Linked DNA regions of Homo sapiens: region 1 is linked to region 2. The links are contacts of gene promoters, found by promoter capture Hi-C in blood cells and fetal thymus (Javierre and others, 2016). All regions are on one chromosome and are shown on one strand. The core of a region is centred on a gene start or on the middle of the fragment in contact, and the rest is flanking DNA. Distances in the headings are between cores, read along the strand shown.

What was found. Contacts are between HindIII fragments. The CHiCAGO score rates a contact against its expected background, and 5 or more counts as called.
Region 1: a contact is called between a fragment that was not itself captured here and the fragment with the promoter of SNX25 in region 2, in 1 of 17 cell types (activated CD4 T cells). The highest score is 5.4, in activated CD4 T cells.

The regions. Positions count from the first base shown.
Region 1 is chr4:184,264,381-184,267,272 of GRCh38, forward strand. It overlaps LOC105377582 (a long non-coding RNA gene), which reads right to left. Exons shown (of 6, transcript XR_939552.3): 5 at 618-704. It overlaps LOC105377584 (a long non-coding RNA gene), which reads left to right and starts at 1,266. Exons shown (of 2, transcript XR_007058414.1): 1 at 1,266-1,410. RefSeq lists enhancers at 195-264, 1,443-1,522. The HindIII fragment of the contact is 2,775 bases long and covers 138-2,892 here.
Region 2 is chr4:185,207,918-185,210,857 of GRCh38, forward strand. It overlaps SNX25 (sorting nexin 25), which reads left to right and starts at 1,681. Exons shown (of 19, transcript NM_001378034.2): 1 at 1,681-2,338. The coding sequence starts at 1,910. It also overlaps a transcript of CFAP97 not described here. RefSeq lists silencers at 1,380-1,959, 2,070-2,229, 2,300-2,489. The HindIII fragment of the contact is 7,757 bases long and covers 1-2,940 here.

The sequences.
Region 1 (2,892 bases), core at 275-2,774, 940 kb before region 2:
ACCGGCTTTCAGCTGAAATGGCTTCAGCTTTAGAACATCAAAGGGCTTGTGGCAAGGATTTGCTCACCAAATCCACTGGCTCCCATTCAGATTTTGTGCCAACCTACAGTCTACAGCTTGTAGTCACTAGGAGCTAAAGCTTTCAATTTTTGTCCCTAGATTATTGTTTTAAAAGTAAATACGGTACAATGGAGAAATACATACATGTGTGACATATATATACATATGATAATACATCATGTATATATGTATGTATACTTAAAACAAAAACACAAGTTAAAAAATGTGTATTATCAGCAACAGAATTTTAAATATATTTTAAACATATACAGTACATATTTAATATACACCATATAAATAGAATATAAAACATTTTTAATGTTTTAATATAAAATTATATATAGTACATATTTAAATATTTTTAGGTATATAAAATACATATTTATTGTATTTATATAGCATTGTTTACATTATATATTTAAAATTCTTTCTGTTGAGTGATAAACACATGCTTGAAAGCTCAAATTATATTTAAAACACCTATTAAATATATTATTATATTTATATGTACAGTAATATAATAAATGTATTTTATATATAATAATGATTTAAAGTACTTGTTTAAAATTCTCTATTGCTGAGTGATAAACACATGCTTCGTAACTTCTCTGGTTCTGTTTTATTCATTATAATCCTCAAAAACCCTGAAAGAAACAGAATAACCTTTTTATTGACCCACTCAAGTTATTTAATTTTTATGTTTCCCTAGCCCATATCTGTTCACGTATAGCTGAAAATAAAAAAGAAACGGTGGATTGAAATTGAAGGGAAATAGACAATAGTTATTGTTCCTAGCTTAATTGGGAGAGAAAGCCAGAGTAAAATAAGAGTCTATTGCAGCTAAGAGGAAGAAGTTCTTTAGTCTCAACCAAATATGTAAATATAACATCTCTCTTCTAATATTTTTAGTGCTAATTCCTAGTATAGAGCTGATTAAGGGTGGGGGAAGCACATATTTAATGGCCATTATTATGCTATTCTGAGGAAAATTCTCTCAGTGTCTAATATTTTAAAAATGGGTTTTAATTAGATCTTATCAGCAACCCTAAAATGCAACTTTTCTCACCCTCCAGAAAACAAAACAAAACAAAACAAAACTCACACCATCCCCAAAACTAGGCTTGATGAATAACCACATGGAAAATATGGAAAGATGTTTCATTAACCACACGGCAGATGGAACTAGGTGGGAGGAAAACCTACCACAGCTTCTCTTAATGGCATATTCAGGCTTTACTTCAGAAAAGGGAAGCATCTAAAAAAGATTGGAAGAATTTCTCACCACTCTGCAGGCAGCTGTCTCCTCCCAGCACCCAGGACCTGAACTCAGAAACTACCAGCAACACAGACGTGAGTCATTCTTGCTGCTATGCAGTTACCCTTAGTGCTGTCCACCCCTCGTCCCATCCCTCTTTTAATCTATATTCATTCAGAGAAAGGAGCTTAAAAAGCAAGCAAAGAAAAATCACCTGTGCGGAAAGTAGAAGAAACTGCTGCTGGCTCATCGCATTTTAGGAAAAACAATGCGCACGAGTAAAGCAGTCTTAGTAAGAGAAGAGTAGGAAAGAAACACGCTTAGCAGCATGTTAGAAACTAGTTTCTCGTGCCCTCCTTGGACTCAGAATACAATACCAGAGAACAATCAGATAAGGCAGGAAAAGTTAGAAGTTTGGGGAAATAGAGCTTCCGTAGGCAACTGTGAGGAATCAGGAACAGGCTGGGAGCAGGCACTGCCCACCTGTCCTACCCCGAGAGCACCAGGATAGGACTCCACACAGGAGGACCGGACCTCGATGATGAGCTCACCCTCGCTCTTAACAAGCACTGGCTCTCTACAGATGTCACTTCCTTTAAGGATGAGTAAATAAGGGAGGAAAAACTCTATGGGGCGGGGCGGGGTCTGGGAGGTAGTTTTTTGTAAAGCTACAGAAAATAGGAAAGAGACTTCATCTCAATGATTTAGAAGACTTTAGAAGACTCTAAAAATAATCTACAGGAGGACCCAAGAGATCCAACACGCTGGACTCCTCTATAGGATATCAAAAGGTATAACCTATATTAAACAAACAAAAAATCATAAGGAATAAGTAAAGATGAAAATTACTAATATGTGATGAACCAATGCTTTTAACAAATGTTTATTAAGAACCCATTATGAAGGCCTGGCCCAGTGGCTCACACCTGTAATCCCAGCACTTTGGGGGGCCAAGGCAGGTGGATCACTTGAGGTCAGGAGTTCGAGACCAGCCTGGCCAACATGGTGAAATGCCGTCTCTACTAAAAATATAAAAATTAGCTGGGCGCGGTGGCACATGCCTGTAGTCCCAGCTACTTGGGAGGCTGAACACAAGAATCACTTGAACCCAGGAGTTGGAGCTTGCAGTGAGCCGAGATCACACCACTGCACTCCAGCCTGGGCAACAGAGCGAGACTCTGTCTCAAAAAAAAAAAAAAAAGAGAACCCATTATGAGGCACGCACTGGGCTGGGCTGGAGAATCCAGACATGGGTAGAATGGACAAGATGCCACCTTTGAGGCAGCTTACACTTTGGTGAGGTTCACAGACAATGCACTAATAAATAATTCATAATGATAATTGCTAGTAATGAATCAAACCAGGGGCTGATTGGGGGCAGGTAGTACCTACTCAGATAAAATAGGCAGGAAAGGCTTCTGTAGTATTTCATCTGAGCCAGATATGGAAAGCAAGTCATGTATATTCCTGGCAGAGGAAGCAAATTGCTTTAAGGTGAGAAAGAGCTCCACATGCCTGAAGAACTGAAAAAAGACCCATGTGCCTGGTAAATGGCACAGCTGAATTTGGGGACATAG
Region 2 (2,940 bases), core at 431-2,930:
ATTCAGAATACAGTCCTCGGCATGTAAATGATCAAAAAACATAGATTTGGTTGTTGTTGATAACAAGCCACTGTGCTTTATTTGAATAATTTGGGTTGGTAGGGTACACTTTGAGGGGCTCCAATTGGGTGAAAATTAACAACTATTTTAGAGGCAAAAGGGCTTCTTCAAAATTAATCATACTGCTTTATTTATTTTATTTTATTTTTGAGACGAAGTCTCACTCTGTTGCCCAAGCTGGAGTGCAATGGCGCGATGTCGGCTCACTGCGACCTCCACCTCCGGGGTTCAAGTTTCACTATGTTGGCCAGGCTAGTCTTGAACTCCTAACTTCATGATCTGCCCGCCTCAGCCTCCGAAAGTGTAGGGATTACAGGCGTGAGCCACCGTGCCCGCCCCTATTTTCTTAAAAAAGGAGGAGAAAGGAAACTGGTAACTTATTTTGATCATCCCCTTGGCATGGCAAAGTCACATCTAGCATGAGGCACTCTTCATTTCTGACTTAGAAGGTTTAAGAAAGAATGAAATGAGGCCGGGCGCGGTGGCTTACACCTATAATCCCAGCACTTTGGGAGGCTGAGGCAGGCGGATCACGAGGTCAGGAGATTGAGACCATCCTGGCTAATATGGTGAAACCCCGTCTCTACTAAAAATACAAAAATTTGCTAGGTGTGGTGGTGCGTGCCTGTAATCCCAGCTACTCGGGAGGCTGAGCCAGGAGAATGGCTTGAACCCAGGAAGCAGAGATTGCAGTGAGCCGAGATCGCCCCACTGCACTCCAGCCTGGGCAACAGAGACTCCGTCTCAAAAAAAAAGAAAAAAAGAAAGAAAGAAAGAATGAAATGCCCATGAATACCAATTGATACTAAAAGCAAAAGCTACATCTGCTTCTTTATTAGTCTTAGCAGTAATTGCCAGTGTTTAAGTAGCATATTGGCATCTACTTAGCAAGCGTTATCTGTATATTACTGGCTGGGACTATGACAGAAGAAAAGGCAAATATATACTCTAAAAATTATTTGGACCACGTTCCTTTGCGTGGCTGATAGCATTTGAACTGAATAGTTGGTAAAAAACAAAAAACAAAACAAAACAAAACAAAAACCAGAAGTGGAGCCAAAGTGATTATGGGCAGCTGCGTGCACCCTGTTGCACCAGGCCGACTTCTTTGGACCTTTCCATAGCTAGGAATTGCAGGCTTCACTTACTCCACCGCACGTGTCTGATTCCTTCCCTAAGGCGGCAGGGTGGGAAAGGGAAGGTCGTTAGAAACTGTGACAGGGAGTCTCGGGAACGGTTGCCTATTTAAATAGCGAGTGAAAACCAGGCAGAAATGTTTGCCGGCTGTAAGCAAAGCGAAGAGGTTACTCGTCAGTGATGAGCGGAGAGGGAGAATTACGGGATCACCTGAGCTCAGGAATTACCAGCGCCGCTGACACCTGCAGCAAAATTTTCCATGAACAGACGGCATCCTGTAGAGGAGGAGGGGAGCGTGGGAAAGAGAGGTGTGCACCGCGCTGGGTCGCGCCCTCTCCCCGTGGGGCCCCGGCCCGGACCCCGCCCCCGCGCTGTGGGTGGGCGCCTCCCGGCTGTCACTCAGCGGCCGCGGTGGCTCCGGGCCCCGCCCGACACGCACTTCAGGGCGGCCCCGCCCCGCCCGCGTCAGGCTGGCCAGGCTTCAGTCACAACACGGTGGGGCTCCCTGGCTGCGCCCGGCCCGGCAGCTACGGGCCCAGCGCCTGGTGGCGGCGCTGAGGGGTCGCCGAGAGGGGCCCGGCGGCGTCTGCGGGGGCCGCTCCCTCGGTGGGCCGCGGGCGAGGCATGAGCGCGGGCTCCCCCTGCCTCCGGAGCGCCGGCGGGGGACCGGGGGGCAGGAGATGTGCCTGTCCTTAGCGGCCCAGGAAGCAGCATGCACCCCGATGCGACCGACAGTGGCGGCGCCGGCCCCAGCCCCGCGCGGGCCGCAGGCGCCGGCGGCCGTCCTGTCTCGGGCTTCAGGGGCGAGCGGCGGCCGGAGTCCCCGGGGGACGCGGAGGCAGCAGCAGCGGCGGCGCCGGGGGCCCCGGGCGGCCGGAGCTGGTGGAAGCCCGTGGCGGTGGCCGCACTCGCCGCCGTGGCCCTCTCCTTCCTGGGGCCCGGCAGCGGGGAGGCGGCGGGGGCCGCGGGGCTGAGCTCCGTCCTGTTCAGGCTCAGCCTGTACCTGAGCTGCGCGGCGGCCGCCTTCCTGCTGGGGATCCTGTTTGCCCTCGTCTGCCGGAGCCCGCGCGCCCAGCCGCCCGACTTCGCCGCCGCCTGGAGCCGGCTGGCCGCGACCTCAGCCGCCCGCCGCCCGCCGGGGGTAAGTACCCGACTCCTGGCCGCCCAGCTCCGCCGGCCCTCCCCGCTTCCGGTGCCAGCTCCCGCGCCCCGAGCTCCGGGGGGCCGCGGCATGCCCTTGTCGAAGCGGGAAGCCGGGAGCCAGGGGGCTGGGCTGCGGGCCCGGCCGTGGACGCGAGCGTTCCCCGGCGCCCGCGCGCGGCGGGCTCCGGGCTCCGGGCTCCGCGCTCCGCGGTGCTGGAGGAGATGCGCGTTATTTACTGGGCTCTGTAGTCACTCGACAACCATCCTCAGTCACAACCCTAAGGGTGTCCCCAGACCTTCGGTGTCGCTTGCCGTGGGAGGGGAAGAAGGGAATCACAGCGTTCGCTACGTGCAGGCTCTGCGCACGGTCCTGGCGATCCGCTTGGTTCTTCTGGCCGTTCTCGGTGGGAGGCAACTTTATGACCGTTTGCCGATGAGGAAACTTGCTTCGGTCCCTGGCCCAGCGCCTCACCCCCAAGCCCGCGTACCCTTCCCACCACCCTATCCTGCCTTCCACCATGCGGATACGTATTATAGTTGTGCAGTCCCCGCTGGCTTCTGTGATTTGGAAGGGGGATGCCAGAAATCACTGGTTTGCAA